Regions from separate parts of the Homo sapiens genome. Here regions 1 and 3 are each linked to region 2. Evidence: promoter capture Hi-C in 16 types of primary human blood cells and fetal thymus (Javierre and others, 2016). All regions are on one chromosome and are shown on one strand. The core of a region is centred on a gene start or on the middle of the fragment in contact, and the rest is flanking DNA. Distances in the headings are between cores, read along the strand shown. Region 1 overlaps INPP4A (inositol polyphosphate-4-phosphatase type I A). Region 2 holds the start of TSGA10 (testis specific 10). Region 3 overlaps INPP4A (inositol polyphosphate-4-phosphatase type I A).

The links. Contacts are between HindIII fragments. The CHiCAGO score rates a contact against its expected background, and 5 or more counts as called.
Region 1: a contact is called between a fragment that was not itself captured here and the fragment with the promoter of TSGA10 in region 2, in 2 of 17 cell types (naive CD4 T cells and total CD8 T cells). The highest score is 5.3, in naive CD4 T cells.
Region 3: a fragment that was not itself captured here is called in contact with the fragment with the promoter of TSGA10 in region 2 in 1 of 17 cell types (naive CD8 T cells); the score reaches 5.3 in naive CD8 T cells.

Annotation. Positions count from the first base shown.
Region 1 is chr2:98,572,994-98,576,391 of GRCh38, forward strand. All of the region lies in intron 23 of INPP4A (inositol polyphosphate-4-phosphatase type I A), which reads left to right. Among named protein-coding and RNA genes, the nearest start is that of COA5, 34 kb to the right of the region's middle. RefSeq lists a silencer at 1,255-1,437. The HindIII fragment of the contact is 2,224 bases long and covers 139-2,362 here.
Region 2 is chr2:99,152,256-99,156,824 of GRCh38, forward strand. It overlaps TSGA10 (testis specific 10), which reads right to left and starts at 2,687. Exons shown (of 21, transcript NM_025244.4): 1 at 2,438-2,687. LIPT1 (lipoyltransferase 1) reads left to right here and starts at 2,712. Exons shown (of 2, transcript NM_145199.3): 1 at 2,712-2,796. RefSeq lists enhancers at 2,319-2,940, 2,330-2,529, 2,590-2,819, 2,850-3,049, 3,130-3,209 and 1 more. The HindIII fragment of the contact is 4,304 bases long and covers 1,094-4,569 here.
Region 3 is chr2:98,551,158-98,555,751 of GRCh38, forward strand. INPP4A (inositol polyphosphate-4-phosphatase type I A) reads left to right here. Exons shown (of 25, transcript NM_001134225.2): 14 at 1,629-1,812; 15 at 3,114-3,332; 16 at 4,396-4,594. Among named protein-coding and RNA genes, the nearest start is that of COA5, 55 kb to the right of the region's middle. RefSeq lists an enhancer at 3,217-3,717. The HindIII fragment of the contact is 7,637 bases long and covers 1-4,594 here.

The sequences.
Region 1 (3,398 bases), core at 1-2,500, 580 kb before region 2:
TTACAAAGTAGAATCTCAGCAGGAGAGCAGAGCTCTCCATACTGGGAGAGGAGGGAGTCACTGAGTACGTTCTGAAGCTCTGAAAGAGACTGAACAGTTCACAGAGTCCATTCCTTTGGGGCTGCCTGAATTCTGATAAGCTTAACACAGTCCATCTCTTGGGGCATTTACTAGCCAGGCTGATGACAGTTGTCACCCTCAGAAGCCTGGCGATCGATACCAGCTGAAAACCACTGTCTACTGCATCATTTAATAGGGTCAGAAGGAGGCCATGTGACCTTTCAGGTCTCTTTAAACCATCTTTATCGTCCATTGTGCCTCTGATCTCCTCATTTTCCCAAGCACTTACCCTGCTCATATTTTCTCCAAAGTTTACTTGTGGAATTCCAAGCCACTGCTCTGAGCCTGGGTAACAGACCAATTTCATAGCTGGTCATTCATTCACCCTTGATGAGGGGCGAGGTTAATTCTTCTCCACAGCAGCATAACCTGCCCAGCGCTGGGACTCGGGCACACATGGCCCCAGTGGCATTCCCGCTCCCTGCCTGGGCCTGAGGAGAGGGATGGTGAGCCCAGGAGGGAGGTGGCACTGCACTGCCCACCACACCTCAGCCACCACGCCTCGTCACAGAGCTCGAGCAGCAGAGGGTCCAGCCCTCCACAGCTTCCCTGAGCAGCTCACTCTGAAGTGTGCCTCTCCGTCTTGTCAGGAAGGTGCTTCTCTCAGCCCCGAGTCTCTTCTACAGCAGCAGACCGTCTCAGCTGCTCATGGTGCATGGCCGCCACTTCGGGTTGGTTATTAGTCCTGTGTTCAAGCCGGGCTTCATGAAGCCGCACTTTTTGAATGTGCTCCACTTCTGGGTTTGTTAACAGTTGTGGCTGCTGATACCATTTTGTTGAATTCAGCTTTAAAGAGTGAACATTCCCCTCCATCTTTTGAGTTCCTCAGCTGGTCAGACTTTATCTTTGTGGGAAGCGTGGGGTGGATCAATCTGCAGGTCTCCCCTCTCTGGGCCTGGCTGCCCTCTAAATCTTTTCATTATAACAGAACACATTTTGAAGCACAAAGTGACAGGAAGTTCGGCAGGTTTCTCAGGCCTCATTTTTGAGGTATCCTCTTGGTTTTGGGGCCTCATCTGGCATTGCTTGCTCAGGCCAGGCCCAGCAAGCGGGGTGTAGGGCAGGGCACACACTGGCTACGGGGGTCTCTGCAGCAGGACAGAGGGGGCTCCCTACTTTTATTTTTCCTGGGGGGTTGCTAAACCCCCCTGGCCAGGCTGTGACAGCCTCTTACCTAAGTACCTTAAGAGATTTTGTGTGAAAAGCAAGCCTTTCCCACAGGACACGAAGAATACAGAGGGTGGCCGGGCTCGGTGGCTCACGCCTGTAATCCCAGCACTTTGGGAGGCCGAGGTAGGTGAGTCAGCTGAGGTCAGGAGTTCGAGACCAGCCTGGCCAACATGGTGAAACCCCATCTCTACTAAAAATACAAAAATTAGCCAGGCGTGGTGACGCATGCCTGTAATCCCAGCTACTCGGGCGGCTGAGGTAGGAGAATTGCTTGAACCTGGGAGGCGGAGGTTGCAGTAAGCCGAAATCACACTACTGCACTCCAGCCTGGGTGATAGAGTGAGACTCCATCTCAAAAAAAAAAAAAAAAGAATGCAGAGGGTGACACAGCTAGGTGTCTGAACAGTGGTGGGGGATGTGCGTTCACTGATGCGTTCTCCTTGGAATACACACACAGGCAGTTTACAGACGAGTAGTGCAGAGACCTTGTGCATATCTTGTTTGGGAACTGTGGTTCTACCTGTCTATTGCCATATAATAGAAAAATCATTAAGTATAGGGACAACTGACCATCCCCTGTCACCAGAACAGAAAAGCAGTCCATCAAGTCCTGTATTTCTTGTTCCCAGTAGAGATCTCAGGGTAACAAGCATGAGTGTAGAGGTGCAAGGCTCTCAGAGACCCTTGGCTGCATGGGTTCTCACGTTGTCCACCGAATCCCAGGCATCCCCTGGGGATAAGGGGTTGTGGGGCAGCAGTGCCAGCCACTCAGGTACTGAGTCCTTCCATCCCCAGTTTGAGCAGAGCTGCTCTCCTTTTCAGGCTCTTATTTCTTTTTGTTTGTGTGTATGAATAAAGGGTCCCTGGCTGAATAGCTGGAATATCTTTAGTCAGGTCTAAGCCTATATCTCATGGATGGGGAGACCCAGCAGTGCACCACAAGTGGCTGGTGTCCCTCTGGGATGGAAGCCTGGCACTGCAGTGCCCTCTTGGGCAAGGATGCATCACTGGCCATCCCTGCCTGCCTTCCAGAACCTCACGTTAGCTCTGGATGCAGCATCTATGAATTTAAAGCTTTTTGAAACCTATAGTTCCAGCTTCCGTCATGTGTTTGGGTCATGAACTCTACAGCCCACAGAATTTAGTGCACATACCAAGTTCACTCTTGCTTTGTCAGTTACAACTTTACAAATTTGATTAATTTACTCTCCATTAGCTTAGGGTCTGCTTATCTGCTTAGGGCCTGTTATTTTTTTTTCTTTCTTTTTGTTGGTCTGTTCTCAGAAGAAGCCTATTCTCCTTCTGATTGTCTTGCCTGAACATTGGGTCTTTTGTTTTGCCTTTCCCTAGACGAGGTTCTTAGCACTGTACCATGTTCGTGTCTAGTGATGATCCTGGTAGTGACTGGCATGCTCTTTGGCTTTGCTGGCCTGACAAGCAGGTGTTGTGCCATCTTCAGGAGTTGATGAGACACTGATATTTTTCTGGCATACAACAGATACCCGGAGCCCACCATCATATCACTTGGATGATGTTTCATTAAATACCAGCCTTGGTGTCATAGTGCAGTATCTGATACGGTGCATAGTCCTTTATCTGAAGCCCCTGTGGCCAGATGCTTTGGAATGCACAGGTTTTCAGATTTTAGAAAGTACTGTGGTACACAGTTGGTGTTTACTTATGTAAGTAATATGGTGCCCATCGCATATGTGTACCATGGTATACATACAGGATTTAACATCCCCGGGGGAGCCTGAGACAGCACTCTGCAACCAAGCTCATATTATTGCCACACTGAAAAGTATGAATATTTACATAAAATGGGATAAGTAAAGATTGCAAGTAGTCTTATATCAGCTCAGGTCTGGTTGTGCTGCCAAATGAGATTGCCACAGATTTACATGAAAAAATTACCTTGTTTCAGAGCTTGATGGATTTGGTGACTGTGTGCCTAGGATTGTATCTAGAGGTGCAGGGAAAATGCCCTGAAATCTCCCCATGGGGAGAGGAGGTGCACTCAGGTGGCCTTTTCCCAGTCCAGAGGCTGCCCTGCCCCCTACTCTGTGAGCCATTCAGTTGTGAGGAGGGAAGTGTGCTGGCAGTAACTC
Region 2 (4,569 bases), core at 1,437-3,936:
CAGAGGGACATAACACAACACAAGACATACCACATAAAACTGATTTTTTTTAAGATGGTCTCACTCTGTTGCCCAGGCTGGAGTGCAGTGGAGCGATCATAGCTCAGTGCAGTGTCGAATTCCTGTTCTTAAGCGATCTTCCTGCCTCAGCCTCCTAGTAGCTAGGATTACAGGCATGTGCCACCATACCCAGCATGTTTTTGTATTTTTTTAGAGACAGAGTCTTACAATGTTACCCAGACTGGTCTCAAACTCCTGGCCTCAGGTGATCCTCCCACTGGGCCATAAACTTGATTTTAACGTGGGAAATGGGAAAGCGTATCTCAGGACATTTTTGAAAGCAAGTTGATTAAGAAAGTAAAGAAACAGAATGGCTACTCCATAGAGCAGCCTCTGAGGACATTTATAGCTTTTGCAGTGACATGGTTGTCTAAGTGAATGATGGTGATGGTCATAAAAGTGGAGAGAAGGGGATAGAGTCCAGGTGAAGTCTGACAGGATGTAGTCATGGTTTGGAAGCGGAAAGTGAGGAAGAAGAAAGGGCTTCTGGCAAAAAAGGCTTTAGCCTTTATGCATGCAGGATCCCTGGGGGGAAAGAGTGAGTTCAGGAGCATGGCTTTTAGACTTACCAGGTTTACAAGGCAGTTGTATCTATGGAACTAAAAAATATAAATTTTGAAGTTGTATACAGAAATGGTACTTAGAGCCATAGAATGAATGAAATTGCTTAAGGAAAATGTAGTGTGAGATAAAGATCTGAGGAACTCCAACATTTAGGGCTGACTAGATCAGGGTAGCTGGCAAAGGGGACTGCGGAGTTGGCAGTGAGGCTGGAGGAAAACCTGGCAAAAGGGACTGAGGAGTTGACAGGGTAATGTCAAAGTTGTCCACAGGAATCTCCAGGTTGAGGTAGTCAAATGAACACTTAGATGAATACTGAAAAGTCCAGTGGATCTAGCAATATGAATGTCACCCGTGACCTTAGCAAAAGCACTTTTGCTGGAATAATGGGGAAAAGCCATTTTGGAGTACGTTGAAACAATGAATGGGAAGTGAGAAAGTAGATACTGGATGTATAGCAGTTTTTCCAAGAAGCTTGGCTCAGAAGGGTAGCAGACAGGATGACAAGTGGAAAGAGAAATGAGGTCACTGGAGGATTGTTAAAGAGTACAGCATGTTTGAGTGTCACTTGAAAGGTTCCAGTGGAGAAGCTGAAGAAGTAGGTAAAGGTAAGAATAACCAAGGGACAGAAGTCCTGGAGCAGGGAGGAGGGAATGGGATTCTTTAAAACCTCTTCATCAAGAAACTAGGAAAAAAAACCAAAGTTGTACCATCTCAGATTTCAGAGAAAGGGAATTTAGAAGGAAGTAATATAAGCAAAGAGCAACAATATTCTGTGACTGTTTTTAATAATAACTAGGAAAATTCCTAGTGCAGTTAACTCTGAACAAAATTCATTCCCACCTGCATAATACAAGATAGACTTACTCAGAGTGACCTTGGTAAAAGGTGTGATAATAAAGAAAGGAGGTGTCATTATGTCTTCATTGTAGCTTTATATGAAGCCCTGGTCATTTACCGTATCAGCATCAGCAAACTGAACACTGAATGATTCTTACTCCAAGAGGCAAGTCTTAGTGGTTTCTATTTTAACTGAAGGAGAGATTAATTTCTGTGCAAGGTTGAAAAAGGTGACCACAAATTCTTTGGGCTTCTTTCATCAAGAGGTGAAGTCCATTACCCCACGCCTTAACTCTGGGCTGGCTTTGTTGTTGTTTTGGCCAATAGAATATGGCTGAGGCGCTGCTTCCAAGATTAGGCCTGAATTGAGATGCCCTAGCAGCCAGGCAGCACCTGCCAGAGCATGAATAAGGCTATCTTGGACCGCCCAGCGTAGCCAACCTGTGCTGAATGAAGCCACATGAATATGCCCAGGAGAAACTAGCAGAAGAATCACCCACCTTGCCCACGTTAGAGATATAAACCACTATTTGAGGCAGTTTGTTATGCAGCAAAACTTAGCCGAAACTATTACCTTGCTACCTTGACTGCTGGTGTAATTTCCCATCTCATGGAGTCACAGAGTTTTCTTGCCAACTGCAGTGAGTTGGCAAATGGGAATGATCAGTAGCCTCAGTGTGTTTTCTGATCCACTCCATCCTGTATTATCATCTGCGAATACCGTTTTTCCTTTAAATGCAATGTGTCTTTCAAAGCTGACTTGAATTTCTCACCTTTCGAGTTACCTGCCATTTGGACTCACTTATTTGGAGGAGATATGTAAAGACCCAGCGTAATACCTGTATGCTCAATAAAAAGTATTTGCTGGTACTCCTTCCTGCCCGTCGTGTGACCTGACTGCTCTGGGCTTCTGGGGGCTCCCCCTAAACTCGCTCCACGAAATGACCCCTCCAACCTGGCACGCCCGCTCTCCTACCTTCGCCCAGGGCTGGCCGTTATCTCTGTGCTGTCACGCGGGGAAGTCCCATCTGAACTGGGGCCTTATGACCTTCGGTACTTTTATTCGAACGTAGCCTGCGTCCCTGCCTGGAACCTGGTTCCCGCCCTGAAGGACCCTTACTTAGCACTCCTGCGGGCTGCCGGGACCCCACGGCTCCGCAGGCGGAGAGACTAGGCGCGATCCCTGCGCGCCCCTCCTTCTCTTGCGCTTCAGGGGGCCGGCCCTCAGGGGGCGGGGCAGCATCGCGCGCAAGGCCTGCCGGTTGCTCGGGGTCGTATGACGCACTTTTCCAGCTCGAGCCCTCACGAGGCCGTGGGTACGACCGGAAGCCGCAGGTGGGTGAAGCGGAAACGCTTCAAACCGGGATGTTGCGGGCCGTAGCGCGTGGGCGGCCGTGGGGTCTTGGGCGCGCGCGGTGTTTCTGGCGGTGGGTCAGGACTTGCGGGTCGCCTCCGCCGGTGTTGAAGCCTCTTGTGTGCACACTTTCTCCTCAGCACTTGGGACGACCTAATTTCACTGTTAGGAACGGTTGATCCCGAACACAGGAGGGAGGGTAAATATCGTAAAACATGTTGGACGCTAGCTGTGTGCACGCCCCCTGGGAGCCAAAAGGGCGAAGTAAAACATGCACACGACCGTAATGAGATTCTGAGTAAGTTGTATATCATTAGAGAGGGGACAAAATAATAGGGTCTTGGCGAGGTCTTATGAAGAAGCTGCGCCTGCCTAGAAAGATAGATGGGATTGTGCTGTTTTCGCTTTCAGTTCAGTGATGGGGAGCCGTGTTTGGCAGTGCAGAGGTAGCGAAGTGTCCCAAGAACATGGAAGGTAAGGAAGTCTTCCGAGGAAAAACTTCAAAAAATTAGTCATTAAAGGGTGAGAGTAGAAAGATTCAAAGTGATTTTGAAGGAACAAAATTTAACCAGAACTTCAAAGGCTTGACACTATCCCAACGACTGTGAAATATCCTGAAATACCGTGCATTACTCAGTCGGGGTCTGATCCGCTACTGGAGCATAGAATAAAAAAAGAGGGGCACACCTGTGCCAGATGAATCCACGCCTTCTCTAGGGGAGAGAGGGTATCCCGGCTTAAGAGCAGGGGCTCTCCTGAGTTAAGGAAGTGTCTTCCCCAGAGCCCATTCCGTCAGACGTTCATATCATGTAACTCAGTCCTTTTCTGATTATGTATTCACCAAGCAAACTTAAGAGTTGGCTTGTCACCAGACCTACAGTGAATAATTGCACAGGCTCATCTGAATATCTGATAGATGGTCTATAGTTCTCTTTGTAAATCAATAAGCTGGCAGTCAGGGATTTTTGGACATCCCTTTGTTTTCACTTTTTCTCACTCTGTGTGATTTTTTCTTATCTTTCGGGGTTCAACTGAAATGTCACATCCTCACTGAGGTCTGTTTATTGGTTTACGTGTTCAGGTGCTTAGAACAGCTTCTTGCATCTTTTCTCACATGATGCCTTTTTAATGAGGCTTAGCCTAACAACCCTATTTAAAATTGCAATGTAAGTTTTCTCACATACACAGTTACAATCCTCCCTTTATCAGCTCTACATTTTTTTTTAATAGACTGAATCTCGCTCTGTTGCCCAGCCCATCTCGGCCCACTGAAACCTCCACCTCCCGGGTTCAAGCGATTCTCCTGCCTCAGCCTCCCGAGTAGCTGAGATTACAGGCGCCTGCCACCACGCCCAGGTAATTTTTGTATTTTTGGTAGAGACGGGGTTTCACCATGTTGGCCAGGCTGGTCTCAAACTCCTGACCTCAGGTGATCTGTCCACCTTGGCCTCCCAAAGTGCTGGGATTACAGGTGTGAACCACCTCGCCCGGCCATCTACTTTTTTTAATAGCCCTCCTTATCACCTTTATTCATTTGACTCACTGATGATTCCCAAGTGCTAAGAACAATGTCTGTCATGTAATTGATGAAAACTTTGTTGAATTAATACCTTTGTTGTGTTTTATTCACACTGTATATACAATACCTGGATGAAGAGAGATATTTTTAGCACTATTAAAATACATGCATTGGCTCAATACATGAATTGGATCAATTCTGGAACCCTAACAAGATCACATTTTTGACCAAAGTC
Region 3 (4,594 bases), core at 438-2,937, 600 kb before region 2:
GTTGCCCAGGCTGATCTTGAACTCCCAGGCTCAAGCAATCCACCCACCTTGGCCTACCAAAGTGCTAGGATTATAGGCCACCATGCTTGGCTGAATTGATTTTTTAAAATCCTATTTTGAGATTGTCTTTTTAAGATGAAATGGTCTTAGAAGGCAGCTATTCATTTGGAAGAGTGATTGCAGATTGGAAAGTAGTGTGCACATCATGCTGTGGAATGACTCCTGTTGTGCCCCACGAGCTTGAGTGCGGTCTGCTGCATGGGCTTCTGGCACATCCATTGTTTTTTACTGTGGCGTGTGGGCTTGTGGTGGTGGTGTTTCTTTCCGGGGTGCTTTGGTTTTCGGTTTTTGCATGTTTGCCACATAATCCAGCAAGGGAAGGGGTAGTGGTGGTTTCTTGATGAACCACTTTGGGACTTCCCTGGGAAGGGGCCAATGGGGAAGATTCTCAGCCCTGACCAAGGTGACTGTCATCTCCAGGGGAAGTGATGGAGGATGTGGTGAGAGGTGCCCTCGCTCCTCCTCTCTCTCTCTTCCCCAGAATTCAAAGGGTAGCCCTTTAGGGACCAGTCAGGACCCCTCATCCCATGAGCGAAGGGACACCCATTCTACCCAGAGCTCACAATTTCAAATTTTAGGAGGAGACCTCTGCATTGGTGGCTTGTACTTCTTCCTGCTTTCTTCAGCTTCCTCAGATGGTCTGAAAAATAAATTTATAATATTGGATTGATTGGGATCAGGCTAAGAGACATGCAATTTATCATCACCGTTTAGTTGGACCCAACACACTGGCCAGGCCCCCACAGCGGGAGGATGTGAAGTTGGTCTTTCAGAGCCTCCTGATTGTGCTGGGAGGGGCTGGGCTGTAGGCTTGGCATCAGATCCCTAGACACACACGCTGCTTGGTGGCGAAGAGGTGGGAAGGAGGGAGAGCCAGGGTTACAAAGCCACTGAGGAGTCCGGCTTTGCCTGTGGCTTGGCATGTTCTCCACTTTTTCTTCATTTGATGAAACGTTATTTTTCAAAGTAGGGAAGTCCTGGAGCGAAGGAAAGGGAAAGGAAACCCCATTTTCTAGGGACTTGCTGGGGTCAGACATGAGAGGAAGGACGACTGTGGGTATGTTCACAGGGAGCTTGAATGCCTGATTGGCCAAAAGAAAAAATAGGTTTTGGTTGTTTGGGGACAAAGTCTAACACCCACTGCAGTCTCTGCTACACTGTGATAACCTGACCCCTTCTTCTGTAAATGGCCTCTATGTCTCCACTTAAGTACTGCTTATAAGTTAATAGATGAGGTTGTGAGGTGGAAGATTACGATCATTTGGGTGATTATGGGATATGATTGTTCAATACCTGTTCATACATTTACATACACAAGTAAAAATACAGATACATGCAAATACAGATAAAAGACTGAGTCATAGTTTAATATTTCAAGCTCCTGCCATATAGACAGGAAGAATCTCCTAAGATATACTTTGCTCATCAACAACTAGAGTAGCTTGAGAGAACATCCCTGAGTCACAGAACACTTCATCTTAGGGTCAATTGTGGCTGGGGTTGGAATGATGCTGTCATCCTTTTCAGATTCTGGAGAATCCCTTAGAATCCATTCTTATCCTTTCCAGTACATCATCTGGCTGCCAGTCCATAATCTACATACCCCAGGATGTTGTCAGAGCCAAGGAGATCATCGCCCAGATCAACACCCTGAAAACCCAAGTGAGTTACTACGCAGAGCGGCTGTCAAGGGCAGCCAAGGACAGGTCTGCCACTGGCCTTGAGAGGACACTCGCCATCTTGGCAGACAAGGTAGGAGGGGTGCCCTGCTACATATGGGCTGGGGAGTTTCCTTGGGTTTCTGGAAGCCACCAGGCAGCCCAGGTGTACCTAAGATGGTCCACAAAGAGCGTGACATTGGGATGACTTTGAAGGTCTACCTTAGGTCCATTTCGCACAAAGGCCCAGGGAGGTTTTGTGATTTGTCCGCAGAGCTGGACAGACCAAGGGCAGAGCCCAGGGCTCATGACTCTTAGGTGCAGCTTCAGGCACATGTGCCCTTCAGCAAGTCCATGGGGCTCATTTTGTTGAGGGTGATACAGTTCCACTTCTTTCTCAGTAACAGCCTAACTAGCACTTTTTTTTTTTGGCCACATTTCTATTTTAGTTGAATTTGAAAACAGAAACTGAGCTATTATACAGACATAAGAAGAATATAATTTTATTGGCTTACATATAGTCAGTAAACCAGCTTCTACTTAGCCATAACTTGATCCTGGTTTTAAAATATGTAAGTATTAATCCCTACTGAGGAAGTGGCTATTATCAGACCCTTTTGATGGATGATACTTTTCCCCATTACTTGGTCTCTCTCTCAGCGCACACAAACACGCTCTCATACACACACACACGCTCTCATACACACACACACACCCCAGATTCTGACTATACCTCCACACTCACACTCACTGTGCTGTTGAGCTGCTGTTCCTGATCAGAATGTGTTATATCCTTCACAGGTGTTCACACAGCATAGAGTGTGAGGTGGGGATTAGATCCCCTGGAAAAGAAAGATGTAGTTGTCAGCAGTAACATTATGAACCACAGAACCCGTGTTGCATGCAGAATTCTCCAAAACCAGACATGTTGTGCCAGGAGGCCAGCTACCCAGAACCCAGAACTTGAGGTATTAGATGCTGAGGAACAAAAGATAAGACTTACACAATTGAACCAAAGTAAGGCCTGACCCCTGGACACTTGTTCCCTGGAAGGTGGAAGTCTGTCAAGGCTGGGGCAGTGGGCTCTCTCTGCAGGCCCCTCCCCTAGCAATCACAGGTCAGAGGTAGGCAGGGATCAGAGAATGTCAGAGATTTCTCAACCTCTTCTCTTCCTTGGTGGGAAATTCTTGTTAAGATTCAGCCCAAGTGGGCCACATGGCAGTCTTTGTACTCAGACATCTTGAGGGATGTAGCCCTTCAGTTGCTTTGCACTGTGGAGAAAGGCAGAGGGGTGCAGTGCTGGGCTTTAAGCCCATTCTCCATTTCTGAGATAAGGCAGGGGCCTCCCCAGCCCCTGGCCTGGGCTCAGCAGCCTTGGTTTGTGTGCACCTGCAGACACGGCAGCTGGTCACGGTCTGCGACTGCAAGCTCCTGGCCAACTCCATCCATGGGCTGAACGCTGCACGGCCTGACTACATTGCCTCCAAGGCCTCTCCCACTTCGACTGAGGAGGAGCAGGTGATGCTTAGAAATGACCAGGACACCCTCATGGCCCGGTGGACAGGGAGAAACAGCCGATCTTCCCTGCAGGTGGACTGGCACGAGGAGGAGTGGGTGAGTCTGCTGCTGTGGCTGTCATCCCACTGCTGAACTTGGGCTGAAAACCACAAAACCTGTTGCCAGTCTCTGCCCCTCTGAAGTGCCTCAAGGTTCAACTGCTGTGAACAAGCTCCAGGTTTCCTTCCTGGATGGCTCCTTGGCTCCTGATGCAGGGAGGGAGGAGACTGTTTTCAAACCCTTGTGTCCAGATAGGGGTAGGGCTGTGCTGGGGGCTGGGCCAGCCTCAGACCTGGATGAAGAGGAAGACAAGTGGGTTTTCCTCCCGTGTTGGAGGTCTCTCCTTCCCCTGCCTCCTGTGCCTTCTATGGCCTTGGGATGCTTGAGACCAGTCAGTGCTCTGTTTGCTGTTAGATTTTCCAGGGCTATGTGTATTTGGGGACGTGGGAGCTCTGGTGCTGGGGCAAGTAGATATGGATTTTGGAGCTGCCGCCCTGACATTACATCACATTATTGTTCCTCAGAGAATTGGCCCTGGGAGCAGGATCTGTGTTTCTTGAGGGAGTGACACATTGTACAACTTGTTTTTACCATTTATTGAGACTACTGCTTAGAGGCATTGTTCTACAAGCACTGAACTATTAATCAGCAGCAAAGTCCCATCCTATACACTGTGCGTGTTTCTGCAAATCACTCCCAGACCTTCCTCTCCTCCTCCCCACCTCCCCTATCGAAATTTCTGTTCCCTTCTATCAAAAGGAGGCCTCCATTTTGTCTGTGTGTGATGATTGTAGGAAGTCTGCAGTGGCAAGAGGAGGAGATGAGACAGTGCCCTGTGGCCTTTCAGGCAGCACTGGAGGGCCACCTGGCCTCCAGAAGAGTTACTAGCAAACATCTCCCAAACTCTAAAAACAATGGCCGCAGGACATCGATTCATCGTTGAAAAGCAAATGCAACTTTAGTGGGGAATTAGGAATCATCTTTATATTTCTAAACTTTGAGGTATTTTAACAAGTGTGGAAGCCTAGGGCAGGGGATCAGTGGAGGGCGATTTGGTTTGTGTTATGTTTGTGTTTCTGTTCGGGAGAGCTGACCCACATGGGCCCCTTTGATTTGGAAGGAGAAAGTGTGGCTGAACGTGGACAAGAGCCTAGAGTGCATCATTCAGCGTGTGGACAAGCTGCTGCAGAAGGAGCGGCTGCATGGCGAGGGCTGTGAGGATGTCTTCCCCTGTGCAGGCAGCTGCACCAGCAAGAAAGGTAACCCGGACAGCCACGCCTACTGGATCAGACCAGAAGACCCCTTCTGTGATGTCCCCT